Linked DNA regions of Homo sapiens: region 1 is linked to region 2. The links are contacts of gene promoters, found by promoter capture Hi-C in blood cells and fetal thymus (Javierre and others, 2016). All regions are on one chromosome and are shown on one strand. Each heading gives the region's core, a stretch centred on a gene start or on the middle of the fragment in contact. The rest is flanking DNA. Distances are from core to core; before and after follow the strand shown.

Region 1 (5,493 bases), core at 2,783-5,282, 290 kb after region 2:
AAAGGGTCACGCTAGAAAAGCCTTAGAATCCTCTCTCCACCCCGTGAAGGTTTCTCTAGCTGTAGCTCTTAAGGGTACAAGACGGCAAATATTCTGGGGTGAAGGAGGTATAATGGGGAAACACATTTATTTTCCCCTTTTAAACTTCCCTGCTGCCCCAGTCTTTGCCTTCTTCTTAGTGGATCCCTTGGGTTCTGGCTCCTTGCGCTTAGCTGAAGAGAGTGAGCCGGTCACCTTGAAGAAATCATCCAGGCGGCCCTGGGTGCTGCCTTGGCGGCTCTTACTCAGCCTCTTGACCCCACTGCGGATTCGCTCCTCAGAGAACTGCTTTTCACCACACATGAACTTGATCAGCTCTTCTTCATTTGGCTCGCTCCACTTCAGCTCCACAGACTCTGGGTCCAGCACCTCAGGTTCCAAGAAGAGCTGGTGAGCCTCCTTGTGGAGCCAATTTTCTGGCACAGGGTACTTGTTGGGGTCAAGTCGCCGCACGATCTCCTCGATGCTCTTGTGCTTCTGGATGAGGTCCACAGCCCGCTTGGGCCCAATACCCCGGATACTCTCACAGTAGTCACTGCCTAGCAGGATGCACAGATCCACAAACTGTTCCTGGTTCAGGCCCAGCTCCTGCAGAATCCGGCTCAGGTGGAATTCCTGGATTGGCAGCTTTTTGGCTTCACTGGCAGTCAGGTGTCGCATTAGCACAGGGCTGCCGAAGGTGAGGCAGTCCATGTCCTCGGTAGCCGCAGCATAGACTTTGCCAGCCTTCACCAGGGCAGCACAGCTGGCCTCTGCCTCACTGGGTGCATCAAGATAAGGGATGCCCATGAGGCTCAGCAGATGTTTGCACTCATCATTGTGCTGCTTAGTGACCTTCACCAGCCGCTTAGTGAATTTTTCCACCTCCTGCTCGGCCCCAGCAGCCTGAGCCTGCTGCAGCTGCTTCTCTGCCTCAGCCCGCCGCTCACTGCGTTTGGCCAGCTCGCCTGACTTGAGCTGTGGCGGCTTGCCATCAAAGACATACACGGGCTTGATGCCGTTCTCCATCATGCGAATGGTGCGGTAGAACATGCCCATCAGGTGGCTGGTGGTCTCACCCTCCTCATTCTGCAGCACATCCCCACCCTGGCGAACAGCAATCAGGAACTGATAAATGCTCATAGAGGCATCAATGGCCACCTTACGGCCAAAGTAGCTCTTGATGTCATTCTCCCGGATGGCACTGGGGGCCACATCAGCAATTAGTTTGGCCAGGCCTTGAATTCCCATGGCAACACAGAGGAGGGATGACTAAAAAAGAAAGGCAAGTCAGAGACGGAGGAAAGGAGAAAGGTTATAACTGGTGTTATCTCACCAACTTCATGCCTTCAACTAAATTCCACACAACAAAAAGGACACCATGTCAGCACTGCTAAAGATAAAAAGATGAACAAGGTCCCCATTCTCAAAAAACTCAGTCTAGCAGGAGAATTTACTCAATAGTAAGGCTCAACGAGTACCAGAAATTGAACCACGTGCTTAGAGAAATAAGATACTGTTGATATTCTAAGGTAGCAGCATTATTTATTACACAAAAAAAACCTGCAACATAGGTCTCCATCAAGGACCACAGAAGGCCAGGATGCTTGGCCTGGCTTGAGGAGTCCAGGGACCATAATGGCAGACCTGAAAGACAGGCAAATACACCAGCTAAACAAACAGATCTGATTTGTTTTGAGTCTCTGGAGAACCCTGACTAATAAGGCAGCCTTGAAAAAGGATTGCAAACATATCTGAATGGAGGTGATGTGGCTTTCTCACAAGCTTCTCTAAACTCTCTTCATCATCGCCTCAGCACATAAGAGTTTCTACTTTTATTATAATGTTGCTAGAGTTTCAAGTCTTTCCCTTTGCGTTTTCTCGCCACCACTCAGTCTGAAATGTTAACTCCATGGCTCCTCCCCAGGTCCTGATTTAGGGGTCTGGCATGCTGTAGTCACTGGGCTCAAAAGAGTATTGCACTTCAGAGTTCAGTGTTTCCCAGATAGCAGTGTTTCCCAAATCACCCTCACGATTTTTGCTACTTCCAACTAAAACCCGTACTTTCATTCACTTAGAATTTTTTTTAAAAAACTAAACTGGAAAACTCATAAGCAATAATATTTGTGTTCTATTAGTTATATTTTAATATGTATTAAATGTATAACTATTAAAAAGGATTTTTAGGGGGTGCAATTTAAAATCATCTTGCCATCCTGGCCAACACGGTGAAACCCTGTCTCTACTAAAAATACAAAAAAAAAAAAAATTAGCTGGGTGTGGTGGTGTGCACCTGTAATCCCAGCTACTCGGGAGGCTGAGGCAGGAGAATCGCTTGAACCCAGGAGGCAGAGAATGCAGTGAGCCGAGATTGTGCCGCTGCACTCCAGCCTAGCAAGAGAGTGAGACTCCGTCTCAAAAAAATAAAAAACTCATCTTGTGCCCACTGTTGGTATGTGTCCAATACTCCAAGAAATATTCTACTGGGGCCAGGCACAGAGGCTCTGGGCAGTAATCCCAGCACTTTGGGAGGCCGTGGTGGGAGGATCACATGAGCCCAGGAGTTCCAGGCTACAGTGAGCTATGATTGTGCCACCACACTCCAGCCTGGGCAACAGAGCAAGACCCTGTCAAGAAAAGAAAAGAAGACAAAAGAAAAGAGAAAGAAGAAACGAAAGACTCCATCAGGCCTTTTCATTGTTCCCACTCTTTCTTCACAGGGTTCTTTCTAGAGCATCAATGACTGTTCAATTCTTCCTTCTAATTCAGTCCAAACACTTCAGCATGGCATCACGATCTTTCATGTTCTGGTTCCCAACCTAACCCTACATTCTGGGATCTCAACAGAAAGCTGGAATAAGGCCCGCCTTTTCCCACTTTTCCTTAGCTGTGCCCTCCTCTCGCCATCCTCTCACGCGTCCTTCCAGGTCCATCCCTGGATTATTAATCAATTAATAATTAATTGACAATGAATTATTCATTTGATTAATATGAATAATTCCCCTGTGAACTGCAGCGGCAAAAGCTCTGGCCTTGAATCTAGGCGCGGCATTTACCATCCGTGTGACATTACCAAGCCACTGAGGTTTATTTTCTCGTCTACAGAAGAAGAACGATTACCATGCCTGTCTCTCAGGGCTGCTGCCAGGGTTAACTGAGACAACAGACAGAAACCTCTAATGTCCCCTCTCCAGGCCTGTTCAACCCTTCGGCTCTTGCCTCAAGCCGGCCGCGCTGCTGGAGTGTGGACTGAGGACCAGACCATGTAGCCCTTGATCCCCTCACGGCGTCCCACAGACAGGTAGGCAGGAAAGGGGCCTAAACAACTCAAGTGTCAGAAATGTTTCTCGTCCAAGGTCTTAGGAAAAATACAACACGACCCCATAAGGTGGAACTTATTACCGCTTTTCTACAATGGAGGAAAGAGAGGCTCGGAGCTTACGCGACTGGCCCAAGGCTCACAGGGGGAAAAGTGGCGGGACCTCTTGACTGCGAATCCCGCGCACTCCAGACCCCGGCTCCCCACGGCCCCCAGCGCCAAGCGGACCCCGTCGCTCCCGGAGGCGCTTCCCATGGGGTCTCACCTGGCCTTTGGGACACGCGGCCTCGGCGGCTAAAGCTTGGTTCGGGGTTGCCCCGGGCAGGCGGTCCTAAGCTCGCTCTCCCTTCTCAGCTTAGCGGCGGGTGGCCTGACGTTCAGCCGCCTTCCAAAGCCCGCGCTCCCGTCACGTGACCTGCTCGCCACGCACAGCCTCTTGGGGCGCGTAGTGCAGGCTGCGTCCCCTCAGACGGCTGCTCTCATGGCAACCAGTCCCTCCAGGGAGAACAGAGTCTCTCAGCGACCCTGGCGTACCCTTCTCCACCGCTTGTCCCCACTCCACCCACACCAGGTCCCCGCAGGCCCCTGCTCCCTCTACACCCGAAATCGCAGGACTACAAGTCCCTCAATGCCACTTGCGCCGGAGGCACTTCCTTTTCCGGTTGTGCTAGGCGCCTGCTCCTGCCGACGTGTTCTTCCGGTGGCGGAGCGGCGGATTAGCCTTCGCGGGGCAAAATGGTGAGAGCGTTGAGGGGAGTTCCAGACGGAGATGCGAGGACCCCTCGGGGTCTGACCCACACCGCGCTTATCTCCTCAGACGCCGGAGATCCAGAGGGCTAGACGCTCCTGGAACCTCCGGCTTGGGCTGAAGGGTGGGGAAGGGGGAAGCCCCTTGCCATGAACTCCTTAGGTTTCTCAGCTCGCGATTTCTAAGGGCGAGAGGCGTGGGGCGAATTTTGAATACCTTCCAGTTTGTATATCTCTGTTATCGGTGGTGTGTTATCTTTATTTGGAAAGTTCTTCTGCCGAACCCGTGCCCATCCTACAATGCCCTGGGCAAATGTTTATTGGTGAAGCACTTCCAACTCTCAGGCACTTGGCCAGACTTTCCTAGGAGCGCCCACAGCCTCTGTACAGATCTCTGGCCACGTTCCATGGACTTCTTTGTTTTCGGCCACGCCTCCTAGTGACCACCGTCTGACGCGCATCTAGCTCTGGGATGATGTCTATTCATCTTTGTATTCTCAGTGCCAAACAGAGGGCCCGTAATTGGAAGCTCAATAAATGGCAGTGATTGTCTTTATCATTTTGGGGGAAGGGGGCCGTGATTGTTTACTGAATTGAATTCCAGTGTCTCAGAACAATGGGGGCAGTTTACTTCTCTAGAGTTGTTATGTTCTGGATTTTAGAAGCATTGGCTGACCGGTGACAATGAAGTTAACATTTGTACAGATCTTTACGTTTACAGCCCTCTTTCATAAAAGACATTATCTCATCATCTTCCCTACAGCCTTAGGAAGGAAGCAAATACCTGTTGAGCAAAATACTCCCTGCTAGGCACTAGATGCTTTGATTCATCATCTTTCTTATTTTTCAGTTCTGTGAAATAGATATTACAGTCGCTTTACTCAGACTCAGATTACTCAGAACCAGAACTTGAATGTCTTGACCATAGCTCACAAGATTCCATAATAGCATAGGTAGTGAGGAAAATACTGAATTAGAAATTGAGGGCCAGGCGCGGTGGTTCACTCCTGTAATCCCAGCACTTTGGGAGGCTGAGGCGAGCGGATCAGGAGGTCAGAAGTTCAAGACCAGCCTGGCCAGCAAGGTGAAACCCTGTCTCTCCTAAAAATACAAAAAATTAGCCGGGCATGGTGGTTCACGCCTGTAATCCCAGCTGCTCGGGAGGCTGAGGCAGGATAATCACTTGAACCCAGAAGGCGGAGCTTGCAGTGAGCCGAGTTGGCACCACTGCACTCCAGGCACTCCAGCCTGGGCGATAGAGCAAGACTGTCTGGAAAAAAAAAAAAATTGAGCCTGGGCGCGGCAACTCACACCTGTAATCTCAGTACTTTGGGAGGCCGAGGCAGGCAGATCACCTGAGGTCAGGAATTCAAGACCATCCTGGCCAGCATGGCAAAACCCCATCTCTA
Region 2 (5,182 bases), core at 184-2,683:
TTTTTAGTAGAGACGGGGTTTCACCATGTTGGCCAGGCTGGTCTCAAACTCCAGACCCCAGGTGATCTGCTTATCTTGGCCTCCCAAAGTGCAGGCATTACAGGCGTGAGCCACTGCGCCCGGCCTAGTTTAATCACTTTAGAGAGCACCAGCAACATCCAGTATAGCTGACAATGCGAATAATACACACCCCAGCAACTCTACTCTTGGTCTGACCTTAAAGCAAAGATTCTCAGCCCTGGCTCCATGTTAAAAAACGCCTGGGAGAGTTTTGTTTTTATTTTTTAAATCTGATGTCTCAGGTCCACACTCAGAAATTTTGATTTCATCTGTTCTGTGATGAGGCCCAGAAATGGTCTTTTAAAAGCTTCCTCGGAGCTTTTAAATGTGTACCCTGCCCAAGAGAAAGTCACCCATACAGATAAAGAAGCATTCACCTTGCACCAACTACATAAATAAAATCAAGGGGATTTAAGCATCTAAATGTAAAAAGCAAATTTTTAAAATAATTTTCAAAATTAAATGACTATCTTATGACTTTGGAATACAAAAAGATATCATAAAGACCAGGCACAGTGGCTCACACCTGTAATCCCAGCACTTTGGGAGGCCAAGGCTGGAGGACTGCTTGAGCTCAGCTATTTGAGACCAGCCTGGGCAACACAAAGACCCTGTCTCTATTTTTCTATTATTTTAATGAATTTAAAAAAAAAAGTCCAGGCGCAGTGGCTCACCCCTGTAATCCCAGCACTTCGACGGGCAGATCACCTTAGTTAAGTGAGAGATGGCGAAACCCCATCTCTAGTAAAAATACAAAAAATTAGCCAGGCATGGTGGCAGGCACCTGTAATCCCAGCTACTCGGGAGGCTGAGGCAGGAGAATCGCTTGAACCTGGGAGGTGGAGGTTGCAGTGAGCAGAGATTGTGCCATTGCATTCCAGCCTGGGCAACAGTACAACCTGTGTCTCAAAAAAAAAAAAAAATATATATATATATATATAGATACACACACACACACACACATATATATACGTGCATAGTTATACGAGGAATTTTTCAGCGGTAAACGTGAATCAACTAGAAATATATGTACCAACATGAATAATTCTTAAACACAATGTTGATCAATAAAAGCAAGATATGGCCAGGTGTGGTGGCTCGTGCCTATCATCTCAGAACTTTGGGAGGCCAAGGTGGGCAGATTACTTGAGGTTGGGAGTTCAAGACCAGCCAGGGCCAACATGGTGAAACCCCATTTCTACTAAAAATACAAAAATTCGCCAGATGTGGTGGCACGCACCTGTAGTCCCAGCTACTCAGGAGGCTGAGGAAGGAGAATCGCTTGAACCTGGGAGGCAGAGGTTGCGGTAAGCCAAGATCACGCCACTGCACGCCAGCCTGGGTAACAGAGCGAGACTCCATCTCAAAAAACAAACAAACAAACAAAAAAGACCTTCAGAATGGTACAGTGTGACATCAATTTTTTAAAATTGAAACACAAATCAATACTCTGTGTGTTTATGGATACATATGTAGGTTTTACAAGTATGAAAACAAACATAGGTCTGAAAAACATAATCCTGAATTTTATTTTTACCTCCAACGAAAAAGGGAAAACATCTAAAAATTAAACCCAGTGTCTTTTGGAGGCATGATACTCTAGAGCTAAGTTGTAGATTTTTTTCGTTATTTTAAATGGTATTTTAAGATGCGCAAAAAGAAGTACAGGTGATGATACAACAGACTTAGCTGATATTTATGACTCAGCGGTACACCTAAAATATTACAGGTTTATTGGAAGCCCTAATCCGATTTTCCTTTCTCCTTGACCGGATGGATTATCCTGCCTCTGTGAAGTGTAACTTTAAAGAGAAGGCGAATGAGCTTCTAGAGAGCTACCAAGACAGTCACTACTTCATCATCAGTAAAAGCTGTTTACTTCCGATGTGTAATAAACCCACGTGACCATTTGGGGGCGCCAGAGTCCAGCACAGGCCGGCCGAGCCCGCGTTCTTCCCGGGGAATGCAACAGCTGATTCACCTGCTCCACGCTGATTAATAATCAAACTACCATTGTGTGGGGCCTATCTTCCTACTGGACCTCAAAACCCACCTACTCCACAAGTTTATCTTCACAATTATGAGCTACCTGCTTCACGTCACACTACAGCACCTAAAAGCAAATAATAAAGTTTATTCTTGAGTTAACCTGCCTCTGTGTTCAGCCAATCCCTCCTGCACGTGAGTGATGCACCTGGATGCTGCATAAGGAGAGATGGAAATACCTAAGGTGTGGTCCTTACTTCCAAGGGGCTTATAGCAGAACGAAGACTCGAAAGCAAGCACACCCACAACCACAACACAGCCGCTGGCACACACAGCAGGAAAGACACCGGGTTTAATGGAGCAGAGAAAGGGGGCGTCATCTCCAGGCACAGCTCCATGAAGAAGATGACATTGACCTGGGAGCTCTGAGCCTTCATATAATGAGTAAGCTTTCAGCTGGAAGAAATCCCAAGTGGAGAAACAGGAAGCTATAAAAGAGCAATGGTTTTGGATTCACAAAACCTGCCTGAGTGAACCTGGGTAAGTTGCTTCCCCTTCTTGATCTCAGGAAGGGTTTTGCAGAGCTGGCAGCCACAGGCACAGGTGAGCAGATGGCTTGAGCTCAGAAGTGCAAGACTAGCCTGGGCTACATGGCAAAACCTGGTCTCTACAATCTGTAGAAGTTTTCCTTTCTAGCTACAAATTAATAAATGTTAATTTGAAAATAAAAATTAGAAAATCTAAGAAAATATAAAGAAGAAAATTAAATTACACCTAGTTCTGAAGAGGCGCAGTGGCTCACGCCTGCAATCCCAGCACTTAGGGAGGCCAAAGCGGGAGGACCGATTGAGACCAGGAGTTCCAGACCAGCCTGGGTAACATAGTGAGACTCCCTCCTCTACAAAAAATTAAAAAATTAGTCAGGTGTGGTGGTATGTGCCTACAGTCCTAGCTACTGGGGAGGCTGAGGTGGGAGAATCGCTTGAGTCCAGGAGTTTGAGGTTATAATGAGCTATGATTATGCCACTGCACTCCAGCCTGGGCAACAGAGCACGATTGTGTCTCAAAAAAATATATATATATGCTTAATCTTTTCACTTAGAAATATTTTCTTCTTATTTTTTCTATCAGCTCCTCCAATTTAATGTACAAAATGAGACTATACTGAATATACCTTTTATATCCTGTTATTTAACTTAACATTATATTGTGACTACTTTCTCGAATCAATGCATATAATTTTGTCTGGTTTTGCTTTCTTTTTCATCAAAGATGTACATGCACATAATCTAAGAATCAGTAGTTCAAGTCCCTCTTCTATCCTGCTCCCCAGATCAAAACTTGAAATATTTTAGTCAATTCCTTTGGGATTTACTTCCATGTCTTAAAATAACACCGTATTCATATTCTACTTACCAGCACGTGACTATCAGACATCACCTACTGACTTCTGACTCTGGAAATGGGGGTTTAGCCCTCTCCCCACCCCCATCACTCAGCCCCACCTTTTATTTTTCCTAGATTCAATGCTGGTCTTATTTTTTATTTGTTTGCTTTGCTTTCTCTGTACCTATCTCTGTTTTTTTTCCCAAATATTTCCTGAAGGTGTGAAACTCCACTCTGTATATTTAAGCACATTAGGCATTTTACTATGGCCACAAGTGGTGGCTCATGCCTGTAATCTTAGCACTTTGAGAGGTCCAGGTCAATGGCCTGAGCTCAGGAGTTTGAAACTAGCCTAGGCTACATGGTGAAATCTCGTCTCTATAAGAAACATAAAAAAATTAGCCGCAGGGTGCGGTGGCTCACGCCTGTAATCCTAAGACTTTGGGAGTCCATGGTGGGCGGATCATGAGGTTAGGAGATCGAGACCATCCTGGCTAACACGGTGAAACCCCGCTCTACTAAAAATACAAAAATTAGCCAGGCATGGTGGCACGGGCCTGTAGTCCCAGCTATTCAGGAGGCTGAGGCAGGAGAATCACTTTAACCCGGGAGGCGGAGGTTGCAGTGAGCTGAGATCACACCATTGCACTCCAGCCTGGGTGACAGAGCAAGACTCCATCTCAAATAAATAAATAAATAAATAAATAAATAAATAAATAAGCCACAGGCTGTGGTGGTGTGCAGCTGCAGTCCCAATTACTCAGGAGACTGAGGCAAAAGGATTGCTTGAGCCTGGGGATAGAGGCTGCAGTGAGCCATGTTGGCACCACTGCAAACTAGCCTGTGTGACAAAGCAAGAAAGTGAGACCCTGTCTCAAAAAGTAAAAAAGAAAAGTGCACTTTACCAGTATCATCTTCTTGGGCTATTTTTCCCAGCACCTTCTGACTGGCTCCCAAATGGCCAGGTTGCTGTCATCCTGGGATCTCCCTGCACCAGCACCCTGAGGATTTCCTTTTCTTCTCTCCTGTGTTGAGCCCTAGATTCCTGGGTCTCATGGCTTTCTCTTTCCTGGTTTACTCCTTCATTTTTATAGAACGCATCCTCAAGACTTCTGGAGGTGGATGCTCGGTAGTGAAAATTTTTGAAAACTTTCCATGTCTTTTAGTGGCTTTTGTTCTGCTTCTGCTTGATTGATGATCTGGTTAGGAATTGAATTCCAGGTAGGAAATCATTTTCCCATAAATCTTTTCAAGGCATTGCTCCATTGTCCTCCAGCTTTTCAGGCACTTTATAAGAACACAAATATAGGCCGGGCACGGTGGCTTACACCTGTAATCCCAGCACTTTGGGAGGCCAAGGCAGGCAGATCACCTGAGGTCAGGACTTTGAGACCAGCCTGGCAAACATGGTGAAACTCTATCTCTACTAATAATACAAAAATTAGCTGGGTATGGTGGCACATGCCTGTAATCCCAGCTACTCGGGAGGCTGAGGCAGGAGAATCACTTAAACCCCAGGAGGTGGTGGTTGCAGTGAGCCGAGATCACACCATTGCACTCCAGCCTGGGCAACAAGAGCAAAACTCTGTCTCAAAGAAAAAAAAAAAAGAACAGAAATATAACTCCCTTCTTTCCAAAGGATGCTATTTTGGTGGGGGGAAGCCCTCACCTTATATTCAAATAAATGCAAATTAAGAACACAGTGACATACCACTTTTCACCCACCAAAATGGCTAAAAGTAAACGAACT

Evidence for each region. The method cuts DNA at HindIII sites, captures the fragments that hold promoters and counts their contacts. A CHiCAGO score of 5 or more calls a contact.
Region 1: a contact is called between the fragment with the promoter of TMEM258 here and a fragment that was not itself captured in region 2, in 17 of 17 cell types (neutrophils, naive CD4 T cells, total B cells and 14 more). The highest score is 14.7, in neutrophils.

Annotation. Positions count from the first base shown.
Region 1 is chr11:61,791,138-61,796,630 of GRCh38, reverse strand. TMEM258 (transmembrane protein 258) reads left to right here and starts at 4,032. Exons shown (of 4, transcript NM_014206.4): 1 at 4,032-4,075. The coding sequence starts at 4,073. FEN1 (flap structure-specific endonuclease 1) reads right to left here and starts at 3,720. Exons shown (of 2, transcript NM_004111.6): 1 at 3,603-3,720; 2 at 1-1,290. The coding sequence starts at 1,269. The coding sequence ends at 127. It overlaps MIR611 (microRNA 611), which reads left to right and starts at 4,070; the gene lies at 4,070-4,136. RefSeq lists enhancers at 785-1,285, 2,831-3,806, 3,720-4,014, 3,807-4,784. The HindIII fragment of the contact is 6,270 bases long and covers 3,640-5,493 here.
Region 2 is chr11:62,079,018-62,084,199 of GRCh38, reverse strand. LINC02733 (long intergenic non-protein coding RNA 2733) reads left to right here and starts at 1,878. Exons shown (of 3, transcript NR_183616.1): 1 at 1,878-2,586. The HindIII fragment of the contact is 2,128 bases long and covers 370-2,497 here.